4 separate regions of the Homo sapiens genome follow, and regions 2, 3 and 4 are each linked to region 1. The links are contacts of gene promoters, found by promoter capture Hi-C in blood cells and fetal thymus (Javierre and others, 2016). All regions are on one chromosome and are shown on one strand. Each heading gives the region's core, a stretch centred on a gene start or on the middle of the fragment in contact. The rest is flanking DNA. Distances are from core to core; before and after follow the strand shown. Region 1 holds the start of YPEL5 (yippee like 5). Region 2 has its middle 89 kb from the start of CAPN13. Region 3 has its middle 120 kb from the start of CAPN13. Region 4 has its middle 150 kb from the start of CAPN13.

Region 1 (3,567 bases), core at 357-2,856:
TGAAAATAAAGAAATAGAAAGGAAAATAAACTAAAATACTGTATGTTTAAAACTTCTGGCCAGGCACAGTGGCTCATGCCTGTAATCCCAGCACTTCAGGAGGCCGAGGCGGGCGGATCACGAGGTCAGGAGTTCGAGACCAACCTGGCCAATATGGTGAAACCCCGTCTCTACTAAAAATACAAAAATTAGCCGGGCGTGGTGGTGTGCGCCTGTAATTCCAGCTACTCAGGAGGCAGAGGCAGGAGAATTGCTTGAACCCGGGAGGCGGAGGTTGCAGTGAGCCAAGATCATGCCACTGCACTCGAGCCTGGGCGACAGAGCAAGACTCCGTCTGAAACAAACAAACAAAAAAACTTATCTCCTGGAAAACTCACTTATTAAAAGATAACTAGTCCTTTTGCCTTTGATGCTCAGGTAAACTTCAGACGAACTAAATGAAAATACTTGTGGATTTGGGGATGAGCGGGAGTCAAGTGCTAGAATTTGCTTAGCAGCTTCTCTTCCACCAATAATGACTTTAAACATGTTGCAAACTAGCCCCAAATGCTAACCTACATTTTTAATCTGAGAGGTATGCGTCATCAAATATTTTGGTTTTATCCCGAAAGTCAGCTAACAGAGATGTAAGTACCTGGGCAACTCTAATGGAATGAGAAGCAACATCTTCCATCTTAAGCATTGATAAGGGTTAAGGGAACAGCTGCTCTTTGCAATGAACAAATCTCACTCTCTGAGGCAGAAATTCGCCATATAGAAGACTGAATTTCTTCATCTTTTTGAGAATCATTTCCACTACCCAGAAAAAACATTCAAATGAGTTGTAAATAAAGTCAAGCGCAGTTGAAAAATCCTGTATCCACAGATGTTTCTTAGGAGTGCCTATGCGCTTAGACTCGAGGGCTAGGGGTTTGAAAGCAAAAGGCAGCCCTCTACCAGGGGTGGTCGGGGAAACGGCCTCCAAGAAACGAATTACACGGTGCACTTTAGTTACCTAGGCAGCTGTTTGTCTAGGAAACAGCTTATTGTTTTCATTTGTCATCACCGCGGCTCACTAGGTATCAGGAAGCTCGGCTCCAGCCGCTACCTGGTGACGCTAATGACGTGCGATGTCTCGCAGCTGCCGCAATTAGACAGGCCAAGCCTTCGCCTTTAAGAAGCTGACTCACGTGGATGCTGTGTTGTGTGCGCTCAGCTGAAAGGGGGAGGTGGGTCCCCAGACTGACTACATTGGCCGCCTCGAGAGAAGGGGCAGAGTTAGCCTCTTTGATTGGCTGTACGAGTCCGAGGTGCTGGGTCAGGGGCGGGGCGAGCTGTCGCAAGCCTGCCCTGGGTCTGCGGCTTCTGAGAGGGGTGGGCCGCGAAGCGGAGGGGTGCGGGAGTGGGGGAGGGTGAGCCAGAGAAGGGGCGGGGCCCCGCGAAAAAGGCAGGAGGCCGAGGACAGGGGCGGGGCCTAGAAATAAAGGGCGTTCTGGGCCAACCGGGAGAGCTGACTGCGGGGGGGCGGAGCCACGCCGGGTGACTGACGTTGAGGCCCAACCAGGGAGAGGCGGGGCCAAGGCCAGGGCCTGACTAAACCTGGAGACTCGGGTGGCCGAGGGGCTTCATACCAGCTGAAGAGCGACAAGCCGCTGGCAGCCGCGGATCTCACCGCCGCTCAGGGTGAGTCCCGCGGGAGGGGCTGGACTCGGGGCCGGTGGGGACTGAGGCGCCCGTTCGGGTCGGGCGGCTTCGAGGCACTCGGGAATCGGCCCAGGGTGGGGGGCCCAGGCAGGAAGTGCCTCTTCCTCGCCGCGCTCTTCCCGGGGTCCCAGAGCGGCCGCCCCAGATCCTTCAGGGTGGGCCCCGGCGCTGGGACCGCGGGCGGACGCGCGGGGCTGTTTGCTCTTTGTGAGGCCTGGCGCGGCGGCCGCCGTCGGCCCGCCCCCGCCGCGCAGCCGGGCGACCGGTGCGACAACAGCCGCAACCCCTCCGCGCGGCGCCCGCGCCTCCGCCCCGTTTCCCCGTCGCGTCCTCCGAGGCCCGCCGCCGAGGCCCACGGCGCCCCCTGGGCGGACGGTCTGGCCGCGACCCCCAACCCGCCGCGCCGCGCCGCGGCTGCCCCGCCCCCACCCGTCGCATAGTCGGGGGCGCGCCCGGTCTCCGCCCCGAATCCAAGTCGGAACTTGACCGAGTTGTTTGGGCCGCGATGACCGCACGGCGTGAACCGTCCTGAGCAGGGCCCACGCCCGGCCCAAGCGGCCCAGCCACCGGGCTGGGGCGGTGTCTCCCTTTGCCCCCTCCCCCCCATGAACGTCCGCCTCCCCCGCCCTCCTGCCCAGAGGACCCGGGACTGACAGCGCAGGGTGACGGTTGGGCAGCCCGCCGGGTGTCGGGACCAAGAGAGCCCCCCGGCCACCCGCTCAGCTGTTTCCTGCTCGTGTTTGTTGTGCCGAGGGAGGCCCCGCCGCCACCGCCGCCGCCGCGCTCTGCCGCCCCGGTCCCTCCCGATTGGCCGGCTGGCGTCACGTGGCCTCCATCAGCTGGGCCGGCGGGGGCGCTCGCGGGCCCCACTGCGGCTGCCGGGTGAGCCCACCCGGGGGTCGCCCGGGCCGGCCCAGCTCCGCCAGCTTCGGGCTGCGGCCTTCCCTCCGCTTGCAGTCGGGAGGGTGGGCGTGCCCTTGCAACCCCTTTCCTGTACCTTCTCTGCAGGTAGATGGGACAAATGAGTGTCCGGATCAGCGGGAGTGGGAAATTGAAATACTACAAAGATCTGTTTAATCCTGATACCAACTAATCTCCCTTTCAAGGGAGAGTCTGGGAAGCTGTACAGCTCATTTATTTTTAAACTTTTTCTGTTTACAGAGATCTGTTGGTAATCTGAGGATTTTTATTCTACGTCGTCTTGACAGATGGAAAACCTGAAGTAACTTCGGGCTAACCTTGTGTTTTTGGAAAATTAGTAGACTTGGTGGTGAAGAAACTGGGAGGAGTAGGATATTAGCTAACTTTGCATAGCCACATATAGAGCGTCGCAGCTGCATTCCACCAAAGAGGAACCAAAAGGCCTGTGGTGTTCCCAGGGTACATATTCATGCCAGAAGTGAAGTGCTTTGGTGAATTCGTTTCCTGAAAGTTTATCGCATACTTGTACTGGGTTAGGTAAGAAGTAAAGTACAAAGAATTTAGAATAGTTTCTCTAGAAGCTTATAACTTAATCAAAAGTCGTGGACAAAGTCGAGCAATAATTTTAGCAAGTTATGAGACGTTAGTAAAATATATGTAGCTTGGAAAATAATGTTACCTGGTTGGATCATTGCGAACTTTTCTCTAGACTAATTTCCCTTTTCTGTTTTCTATTTAAGTAATGAGAAAAATAAACAGGTTTAGAAAAAAGTGAAAGGAAATAAGGCCAAAAATTATGAAAAGAAGTAATTAAAGCAGCTACTACCCTCTGAAAAACAGTCCACGAGACATGAAGGTAGTCCTAGGTATATGTGTGCCTAAAATATCATTCTAGGTTTAATGGTGAATAACTATAGAGATCAGTGTCAGTTTTAAGATAATCCTGTGTAGTAATGTCAGTGT
Region 2 (3,567 bases), core at 654-3,153, 570 kb after region 1:
GTGGTTGTGGTGGGACGGGTAAGAAGCCTCTGAACACAGTAGGCCTTAAGCTTGCATTCATTAGGGATCTCACAGTCACCCTGGTTGGTGCAGTCTAGAGAATTGCCACCAGTCAGCGAAGTTGCAAAAGCGGTGATTCCTGAAATGTCACCCAAGGACTATGTGCCGTCAGCTGGGGAGCTTTAAAATCACAGATCCCCAGGGCCAGCCCCAGACCTTCTGGATTAGGATCTCAGACAAAATTGTAAACAAGTCACTCAAGGCAATTCCTACATATATAAATGTTGAAACTCACAGCCTCAGAAGTCTGAGATGAACAGAGGTAAACAATTCTGATGGCGTTGGGCAACTAAACATTTCCACTGGGAATGGATTTCACGTGGCTGGGCTGTATCGCCAATACTCCTACCAGCACCTGTGGCCCCAGTCTTCTTCCTTCTGTTTTAGTCTTCCTATTTCTGTCGTATCCTCTGTCTCTCCCATCTAATTTGTCTGTATTGCTCCTGGCCATGCCTCATCTATCTGTTCCTCGTCTGTCTAAAGTTTCCTCCCTTCCTCAGGTCCCCATTTCCATCTTTTTGTCTTTCTATCTCTCCTTCCATTTTCGTCCTCTCTGTGCTGGCTGTTGTCTCTTGGCACCTGGCAGCTTTTACACCACTTTCTATATTCTCTCCTATTTGGCAGGGGCTGGAAGCCTGAGAAATACCCTTGCCAGGACAGATCCAGGTACATTTTAAGTCCCACCCTTGAGATACATGTGGGTGACATTTGGAAGGCAGAAGAGAGGCAGAAGGCATATGATTCTGCCTCCAGCAAGTTGTGCAGTCAGGTGGGTTTCAGCAGATGTGAGGTTTTGTCTTGCAAGTCACTGGTGTTAGGCTGCAGGAGGTCAGGACCATTACTGGCAGCTCCCTGTAGTGTCTGGCTTGGGTAGCAGTAGCAGCTTCTTGGTTCTCTTAAGGCTAGTGGTGAGCCTGGGAGTCAGTGGTGACCTTCCTGGCCTTTGCTCCTTTAACCAATCCAACAGCTTTTTAAGTGCCTCATTCCTTAGACTAGATCCCTTCCTTCTTGAAATACCTTGAGTGGTTTTTTTTGTTTTTTTTTTTTTTTCCTGACTAGACCTGGCTGATACACTTTGCTCCTTCCTCACCATTTAAACTCTTTCGCTAGTCTGTATGCACATGTAGCTGCTGTCTGGAACCCAGCTGCCCTGGAGTGAGTGTGTGTGTGCACACGTGCTGTCAGATGGCTACCTCACTGGGGTAACCCCCAGCTCCAGGGAAGCAGATCAGTCCTTTCCTCTGCTCTACCGGGCACCAGCCTAAAGTCTAGTTGCTGGAGAGGCCACAGTAACCGAATCAGGGGACTTATGCTTCAATCTTGTATCTGTCACTTCTTTTTTTTTTTTTTTATACTTTAAGTTCTAGGGTACATGTGCACAACGTGCAGGTTTGTTACATATGTATACATGTGCCATGTTGGTGTGCTGCACCCGTTAACTCATCATTTACATTAGGTATATCTCCTAATGCTATCCCTCCCTGCTCTCCCCACCCCATGACAGGCCCCAGTGTGTGATGTTCCCCATCCTGTGTCCAAGTGTTCTCATTGTTCAATTCCCACCTATGAGTGAGAACATGCGGTGTTTGGTTTTCTGTCCTCGTGGTAGTTTGCTGAGAATGATGGTTTCCAGCTTCATCCATGTCCCTACAAAGGACATGAACTCATCCTTTTTTTATGGCTGCATAGTATTCCATGGTGTATATGTACCAAATTTTCTTAATCCAGTCTATCATTGGTGGACATTTGGGTTGGTTCCAAGTCTTTACTATTGTGAATAGTGCCGCAATAAACATACATGTGCATGTGTCTTTATAGCAGCATGATGTATAATCCTTTGGGTATATGCCCAGTAATGGGATGGCTGGGTCAAATGGTATTTCTAGTTCTAGATCCTTGAGGAATCACCACACTGTCTTCCACAATGGTTGAACTAGTTTACAGTCCCACCAACAGTGTAAAAGTGTTCCTATTTCTCCACATCCTCTCCAGCACCTGTTGTTTCCTGACTTTTTAATGATCACCATTCTAACTGGTGTGAGATGGTATCTCATTGTGGTTTTGATTTGCGTTTCTCTGATGGCCAGTGATGGTGAGCATTTTTTCATGTGTCTGTTGGCTGCATAAATGTCTTCTTTTGAGAAGTGTCTGTTCATATCCTTTGCCCACTTTTTGATGGGGTTGTTTGATTTTTTTCTTGTAAATTTGTTTAAGTTCTTTGTAGATTCTGGATATTAGCCCTTTGTCATATGAGATTGTAAAATTTTTCTCCCATTCTGTAGGTTGCCTGTTCACTCTGATGGTACTTTCTTTTGCTGTGTAGAAGCTCTTTAGTTTAATTAGATCCCATTTGTCAATTTTGGCTTTTGTTGCCATTGCTTTTGGTGTTTTAGTCATGAAGTCCTTGCCAACTATGTCCTGAATGTTATTGCCTAGGTTTTCTTCCAGGGTTTTTGTGGTTTTAGGTCGAACATGCAAGTCTTTAATCCATCTTGAATTAGTTTTTGTATAAGGTGTAAGGAAGGGATCCAGTTTCAGCTTTCTACATATGGCTAGCCAGTTCTCCCAGCACCATTTATTAAATAGGGAATCCTTTCCCCATTGCTTGTTTTTGTTAGGTTTGTCAAAGATCAGATGGTTGTAGATGTGTGGTATTATTTCTGAGGGCTCTGTTCTGTTCCATTGGTCTATATCTCTGTTTTGGTACCAGTACCATGCTGTTTTGGTTACTGTAGCCTTGTAGTATAGTTTGAAGTCAGGTAGCGTGATGCCTCCAGCTTTGTTCTTTTGGCTGAGGATTGTCTTGGCAATGTGGGCTCTTTTTGGTTCCATATGAACTTTAAAATACTTTTTCCCAATTCTGCGAAGAAAGTCATTGGTAGCTTGATGGGGAGGGCATTGAATCTATAAATTACCTTGGGCAGTATGGCCATTTTCACAATTGATTCTTCTTATCCATGAGCATGGAATGTTCTTCCCTTGTTTGTGTCCTCTTTTATTTCGTTGAGCAGTGATTTGTAGTTTTCCTTGAAGAGGTCCTTCACGTCCCTTGTAAGTTGGATTCCTAGGTATTTTATTCTCTTTGAAGTAATTGTGAATGGGAGTTCACTCATGATTTGGCTCTCTGTTTGTCTGTTATTGGTGTATAAGAATGCTTGTGATTTTTGCACATTGATTTTGTATCCTGAGACTTTGCTGAAGTTGCTTATCAGCTGAAGGAGATTTTGGGCTGAGATGATGGGGTTTTCTAAATATACAATCATGTCATCTGCAAATCAGGACAATTTGACTTCCTCTTTTCCTAATTGAATACCCTTTATTTCTTTCTCCTGCCTGATTGTCCTGGCCAGAACTTCCAACACTATGTTGAATAGGAGTGGTGAGAGAGGGCATCCCTGTCTTGTGCCAGTTTTCAAAGGGAATACTTCCACTTTTTGCCCATTTAGTATGATATTGGCTGTGGGTTTGTCATAAATAGCTCTTATTATTTTGAGATACGTCCCATCA
Region 3 (3,567 bases), core at 482-2,981, 540 kb after region 1:
TAACCTTCTGCCCCAAACCCATTTGCCAGTTCTTGATGGCAACAATAGGAAAAGTAGGCTTCCAGGCAGGACTGATCCAAGAGACAGCTCTGATTTAAACCCAGGAGTGGGTTAGGTTTTGTAGCACCTGCAGCTCATACAATTTTGAAGTGCCTCTTTAAGAAAAAAAAAAAAAAAAAAGCAAACGTATGCTACTTTTGCAAACTTTACAGAAAACACAGGACCGTGCAGGTAAGGGGTCTTGACGCTTATGCTTTGTTAGCTTCTGGGTAAATCTGCTTCCACTTAAACACACTAAGGACAATTGAGGGCAGGCAGAGGCTTGGGTCACTGTTCCCTCTTGCTCACATTTTGCCTGGCACAGGTGCAAAATTACGGTACCATCGCATTTGAAAACAGCAGTTACCCCAAGCAGTTATCCCTCAAGGCCCTTTATAAATGTCAAGCTAATTATTAGATGATTAGATAATAGCTACAGTGTGTGCCGTCTGGGTGAGCTGTGGCTGCTGCTACCAAAACACCCTGAGAATGCCAAGTGACATGTTTGGAAAGGATTGGAAGGACTAAGAGTTCCAGGCCTGGACGGTGAAAACAAGCCTGGAGGTGGTCTCCAATGGGGAGATGCCTTAGAGGGAAAGGATGAGGAGGGCAGAGGCTGTGGCAGGTGCAAACATCTTCCCCAGAGAAAGGGCTCAGGTAGCAACAGCCACTTACTGAGCATTTGCTGGGTCAGGCTAAGCTCTTTACATGCATTTTTTCGTTTAACTCAAAACAACCTTTAAATGTGGGAAATTGTATTATTCCTAATTACCAGGTGAAAGTGGAGGCTGGACGGCACACACCACTAGTAAGCGGTGGAAAAGTATTTGAACTTAGAGCTTTCTAAGCCCATGTTTTTAACTCCTGAGCTGCTGGTGAGAGCCCTCTGGGCTAGGAACCCCTCTCTCTCCTGGTCTTTTTCTTTTTTCGAGATGGAGTTTTTGCTCTTTTCGCCCAGGCTGGAGTACAGTGGTGCAATCTCGGTTTATTGCAACCTCCGCCTCCCTGGTTCAAGTGATTGTCCTGCCTCAGCCTCCTGAGTAGCTGGGACTACAGGCGCCCACCACCACGCCTGGCTAACTTTTGTATTTTTAGTAGAGATGGGGTTTCACCCTGTTGGGCAGGATGGTCTTGATCTCCTGACCTTGTGATCTGCCTGCCTTGGCCTCCCAAAGTGCTGGGATTATAGGCATGAGCCACTGCGCCCAGCCTTCTCCTGGTCTTTTTCAGGAATGCATGGGAGGACTCATTCTGGGATCATAAATGACATCCCCCAAATTCTACCCCAGATCTGCCTACAGTCAAGCTTGAGGCCTTGTGGGCCTAGAACCAGGGCATCCTGGACTTCCGATGGGCAGGGCTGTATAGGAAGTTATGCCACCAACGAGGTGGTCCTGGACAGGGGCTGCATTAGGTCCATGATTTGCAAATGTGCTCTGTGGAAACTGAGGAAGTCCATGGAGCTTTTTTGGAAGCGGGGAAGAGCAGGACGGCATCTAATGAAAGGGCTCGGTAGGCAGGGTAAGGAAGCTCCAAGGACCCCCTGCCCCCAAATTCTACCAGAGCAGTCCCACCTTTATATGATGTCACGCTGGCCTTCCTGAAACACTCTTTTTTTTTTTTTTTTTTTTTTTTTTGGAAACGGAGTCTCACTCTGTCACCCAGGCTGGAGTGCAGTGCTGCGATCTTGGCTCACTGCAATCTCTGCCTCCCAGGTTCAAGTGATTCTCCTGCTTCAGCCTCCTGAGTAGCTGGGACTACAGGTGTATGCCACCAGGCCCGGCAAAATTTTGTATTTTTAGTAGGGATGGGGTTTCACCATGTTGGCCAGGCTAGTCTCAAACTCCAGACCTCAAGTGATCCACCTGCCTCAGCCTCCCAAAGTGCTGGGATTACAGGTGTGAGCCACCGCGCCCAGCCCCTGAAAAACTTTTTTTGAACAAAGGGATCTGCACCCCCAAAATGTATGCAGGCCAACCTAGGTCCTTCCAGCCCTGCCCCCACACTGGCTGGTTGGGAGCATTGTTCAAGGTTATGCCAGTAGAGCAGCCCCTCTCTTCCTCGTTAAGGCAGCCTGGTGAAGCTTTGAATCCCTCCTCAGAGCTATATTTTTAAATGCATGAAACAGAAGACATAGGATAACACCAATTACATTGAAATACAGTTATCACAATATTTTTATAGAAGCTAAAATTTTTGATATCACATCACAGATTCTTGTTAACACGACAAACAAGATCTAGTGACAGATCTCGCAACCCCCATAATTCTGAAGCAGTGATTAGCTTAAACAATAATTTCAGATATCGTAACAAATGCAGTGATATGAAATGTAACTTTGATTTCTACTGGCAAGTCGCAGATGCTGCTAAAATGTCTGAGGCCTGTTGACTACATTCAGAAGAGCAGGAGATACTCAATTTCAGTGGAAGGTTAGTGAAAATAAGGATATAAATTTTTTCCCCATTCAAGTTCACAGACCCTTCGAATTCTCTCCACAGCCCCACCGCCCCTGTTGTAAATCCATCAGCACAGTATGCTAGCCATTCGGGTCATTACTGCTAATTATAGCTGTTGTTAGTATTTGCTTCAGGCACAGCTGGCACCATGGCCTGGCTGGTCCCAGCTTCACTCATTCCCTGCTCTCAGTCCTAGTGACTAGCGAGGGAAACGTGTCTGCACAGCTTTTCTCCCTGGATGGAAGCCGAGTGCCTCTGGCCTGGAGCCTGTCCCTCAACCTGTCCCTCCACCAGGGAAAGCTGCAAAAGGGAGTCTGTGGCCTTTCCATCCTGGGTCTGTGGGAGTTCATCAGAGCAGAGGGTGGGCTCCTGACCCAGCCTGTCCTCATGGGAGTGCTGCAAGCTGACACCTAAGAGAGAACTGCCTGATTCCTAGGGTGACCTACCCTGTCAACAGAGGAGGGTGTCTCTGTTGCAAAGGCCTGGGAGGAGGTGGCCGGCAGAGCTTCAGAGAGCCATTCTGGGGTAAGCAGCTTATTTTTCCCTCCCTGCAATGGCTTGTTTTCAGACTCATTCACAGAATGCCCCAGAGGCTATGAGACCAAGGAAAGGGTGACACTTTTCCCCTGCACCTATGGTGGAATGGGCACAGAGGAGAACAAGGCTCGTGTGCCTCCCTACTTCTCAGGAAGGAAACTGCCTGTCATCATTGTTTGCAATTTCTCAGACACCACACAGTGGTGCCAGGTCCCTGTTGGGTGGCCCACCGTTTGAAGGGCTCCTGGCTCAGACTGGAAAATGGAGAAGGCAGGGTAGGGTCGGATGAGCCCAGACAGAGCCAAGAAGGTCAGGGCTGGCAGAGACCTCAGGGGACATGTGACCCTCCTGCCTCATCGCCAGGTGAGGAGCTGGAAGCCGGGTCCCAGTGGGTCAGGCCAGAGCCAAATATCAGCCTTTGTCACCTCTCCTGTGGCCTGATCAGTCAGTGCCTTACAGCCTCTCTGGTGGGATCCCTCATCCCTCCTGGTGACGGGGTGGGGAGAGGACAGACATTCAGCCTGCCAGATCC
Region 4 (3,567 bases), core at 508-3,007, 510 kb after region 1:
GAGCTCCCTAGCCCAGCCTGATTCTCTGTGCCAGACCACCCAGATGATCCCCACAAGAGGAAGCTTGGCCCTGAAGTTCTGGCGGGTGACTTATTTCCTGTCCCCTTTATACCTCTCCAAAGAGTTCCAATTCATTCATTCAACAAGCATGTATGAGTTTCTTCTATAATAAGCAAAATAGTATGCATTTGTATTAGTCTGTTCTCATGCTGCTAAGAAAGACATACCCACCACTGGGTAATTTTAAAGGAGAGAGGTTTAATTGACTCACAGTTCAGCATGGCTAGGGAGGCCTCAGGAAACTTACAGTCCTGGCGGAAGGGGAAGCAAACACGTCCTTCACAAGGCAGCAGCAAGGAGAAGTGCAGAGCGAAGTGGGGGGAAGGCTCTTTATAAAACCATCAGATCTTGTGAGAACTCATTCACTATCACGAGAACAGCATGGAGGTAACTGCCCCCATGATTAAATTACCCCCTACTGGTCCCTCTCATGACATGTGGGGATTATGGAAACTACAATTCGAGATGAGATTTGGGTGGAGACACAGCCAAACCATATCAGCACTGAGTACTTAGAATATGCCAGACTATGCATATATTTCTTATTTAATCAATAGTCTGAGTTAGATTATTGTTAGTATTATTTCCCCTATTTTACTGAAGAGGAATAAAGACTCAGAGGGAAGTGATTTGCTAAAGTACACTATGTTGGATGGTGCTGTGTTAATTTGGTTAAGCTGGGGGCTATACTCCCAGAATTCTTTTCCCTGTATGGCTCCACGTTATAGGAGCCATATAGAATTGGCCAAACAGCAACTGGTAAGAGATTTGGAAGACAGAAGTGAAGCAGAGGCCATTACTCTCTGAAAATTGTCGTGGTTGCATATGGTGTGAAACAGATGCAAACGTGTCTGGCAGGTCCCAGCTTGTCCTCGCTCTTTTCTGCTTCCCATCTAGCTTGTCACCCTGACTTCTGGCGTTCCTGACTAATAAAGGCTCTAGACCCTCAACCAGAAGATTGACTGTGGACCGGCAGAGAAGGTAACTAGATGAAGGCATCAGTTTTCCATAGACCTCTCCATGAACTTCCCCTTTGTTGTCCCACCCCAGTGGCTGGAGAAATGCAAGGGTGCAAGTCATGTTTTTGGTATATATTGTGACATGGGAGCACCTCCAGAAGAAAATTTGGTTTTATAAAGACTCAAATATAAAGAGATTTTGGCATCTTGGTAGCCAAAGCTCCAGGGCCAACACTTTATACAGGCATGGTATCCCCATACCATAGGAAAAAAAACCCTCTGTGGAAGTCCAGCCCTCTGGACACTCAGTGTGGAAGTCTCCGGAACAGTAGGAAAATGGATTCCCCCAGGCCAAGACTGGAAGATGGAAGTCAGGCACACAAAGTGCTGACGAGGCTGGTGTGGAATCCCAAGAGTCACAGCCTAAGGCATATTCTGCAGCCCCCAGGTCAAGCAGATGGGTACCAGGGGCTCCAGGTTCCTCTACAGCACCCTGGGAAGGGACAAGTCACAGCAGCCATTGTCTCCTTAGAGCTAGAAGACTTCCAGGAACCAAGGGAAGAATCAATGCATCATTCCCTCAACTCAGGACTCAAGACCCAATTTAATCACTTTGAGCTCAGCATGGTGCAGAGTTTGCCACAAAGAAGTGGTTCAGCTATGTATTAAGGAGGCAGAATTCAAGACTTGAGCAAGTCAGTTAATCCTGCTGAGCTTCAGCTTCTTGACCTGCAAAATGGGGAAACGACACCCACTTCCCAGGGTGAATTATTGAAAAGGGTCAATGTGGGCATGGCTTGGAAGCCCTCTATGAATGGAAGGGCTGAGCAAAGTTCCTTCATAAGTAGAGGGTGTCAGGAGATAGGATAAAGAACTGGATGGGGAATCAGGACCCTTGCTGTCCAGTCTAGGCACTGGCTCTTGCCATCAGCATGACCTTGAGGCTCTGATCATTGGAGGGAGGCAGAGGTCAGCACTAAAGGGTGTCTAATCTCTCGCTGCTCTCCCAGGCCAGGTTCCCACACCCTAAATCTCACAAACCCCTCTTCTATCAAGGTGGAAGTCGATGAGACATGAGAAGACATGCTTGAGACATGATGAGATGTGAACTTTCATGTTTCCAGGAGTGGAAGGAGGGCTCCATTGTTGGGTTGAAGGAAAGACGAGGCTGGGGGATTTTCCTTCTCATGTAGCAAATACTTGGAACCCAGGAGCCCTTTGGTGTAGGGGCAACTGTGGGACTCCTGTGCTCCTGCAGATCTTCCTCTTTGTTATGTTTTGAGGTTGGCTTTTCCATCCCCCTCTCTTTCTTCTTTCTTTTCCCCAACCACTCTATCATACACTACATCTTTCATATGTGTCTCTTAGTGTTCTCTTCTTCCTCCTCTTTGTCTTTTTCCTCCATCATCATTATTAGCAAAAATGAGAGCTGATGGTAAAACTGGTGCCCAGGGAGGGCAAGTGACTCATCCAAGGCCACATAACAGCAACTCTTATTGAGCTCCTACTGTGTACCAGGCACCCTGTCCCTTGGGACTGTCATGCCACTCCTGGCTGGGAGAGTATTTATTCCTATCCTGAACATTCATAGACAGAACCGTGGAGGCAGGGTGAAGGGAGACTTCCAAAGGCCACCCAGGACACTGAGAGCAAATGCTCACAGAGAACTTCTAATCAGCACCTTATAAACTAGAGAAGTTAGGGATTTAGTGATGGAAAAGATAGGGGCAAGGGGTAAGTTGGATCAGTGGGCATGAACTCACTCCACAGTAGAGCCTGAAAAGGAAAGAGGGAGGGAAAATAAAAGGCTACTTTCCATGATCAATAATAAAATTGTAGAAGCCATTCTGCCATATGATCAATGAAGCTCAAACTCTGAATGCCCCTGGAAAGCAGGTGTTGGCTCTTTCAGAAAGGAATGGTTCATTTCATTTGAGGTCCCTACGTCATTTAACAGTCACCCCTTGGTATCATTCCAGAGAAATGTATTGTCCTGGTTCAACTAAATTTCCTTCCTAGACACTGAAAAGTGGCACCTGGCAAAGAATATGCAAACAGCAGGAAGGTGGGGAGGGATGTCCCTGACTCCCTAGGCTCGTGAAATGACCATGGGTGGCATGCTGGTCCTCCCTGAACCTCAGTCATACACAACTCTCCATGGGGAACAGACTCCATGTCACCCTGCTTTTCAGAGGGTACGGGGATCATACTGAAAAGCACTTGGTCTCCCTCAGATGTGAATGTTCCATGGGGTTAGTCATTCCAACTGAGTGCTTATGCAAAAGTATGCAGTTGATCACAGAAGCAGCTAATGGAGATCGATAACATTCTTAGCTTGAAATGAGAAGGCTGCATAGAGTACAGGCCTCATCTGACCTGACAGCTGTTGTGCTGGGTGTAGTTAGTTCAGGACATGAGGCTTCTCTTTAGGTAAAGCTTTTATTAGCAGCGTTGGGAAGTTGATCAAGTAAAAGCATGTGATGCTGCTTGAACCATGAAGCTGTTCCTCATTAAATGTGTGGCTTTGGGTCAGAGTAGCGCCTGATCT

Evidence for each region. The method cuts DNA at HindIII sites, captures the fragments that hold promoters and counts their contacts. A CHiCAGO score of 5 or more calls a contact.
Region 2: a contact is called between a fragment that was not itself captured here and the fragment with the promoter of YPEL5 in region 1, in 8 of 17 cell types (activated CD4 T cells, total CD4 T cells, naive CD4 T cells and 5 more). The highest score is 11.1, in activated CD4 T cells.
Region 3: a fragment that was not itself captured here is called in contact with the fragment with the promoter of YPEL5 in region 1 in 7 of 17 cell types (naive B cells, total B cells, activated CD4 T cells and 4 more); the score reaches 8.0 in naive B cells.
Region 4: a fragment that was not itself captured here is called in contact with the fragment with the promoter of YPEL5 in region 1 in 2 of 17 cell types (activated CD4 T cells and non-activated CD4 T cells); the score reaches 5.6 in activated CD4 T cells.

Annotation. Positions count from the first base shown.
Region 1 is chr2:30,145,401-30,148,967 of GRCh38, forward strand. YPEL5 (yippee like 5) reads left to right here and starts at 1,607. Exons shown (of 3, transcript NM_016061.3): 1 at 1,607-1,662. RefSeq lists silencers at 1,211-1,790, 1,821-1,990, 2,281-2,720. The HindIII fragment of the contact is 10,963 bases long and covers 1-3,183 here.
Region 2 is chr2:30,716,549-30,720,115 of GRCh38, forward strand. No RefSeq gene overlaps it. Among named protein-coding and RNA genes, the nearest start is that of CAPN13, 89 kb to the right of the region's middle. The HindIII fragment of the contact is 3,711 bases long and covers 49-3,567 here.
Region 3 is chr2:30,686,355-30,689,921 of GRCh38, forward strand. No RefSeq gene overlaps it. Among named protein-coding and RNA genes, the nearest start is that of CAPN13, 120 kb to the right of the region's middle. The HindIII fragment of the contact is 777 bases long and covers 1,344-2,120 here.
Region 4 is chr2:30,657,469-30,661,035 of GRCh38, forward strand. No RefSeq gene overlaps it. Among named protein-coding and RNA genes, the nearest start is that of CAPN13, 150 kb to the right of the region's middle. The HindIII fragment of the contact is 3,392 bases long and covers 62-3,453 here.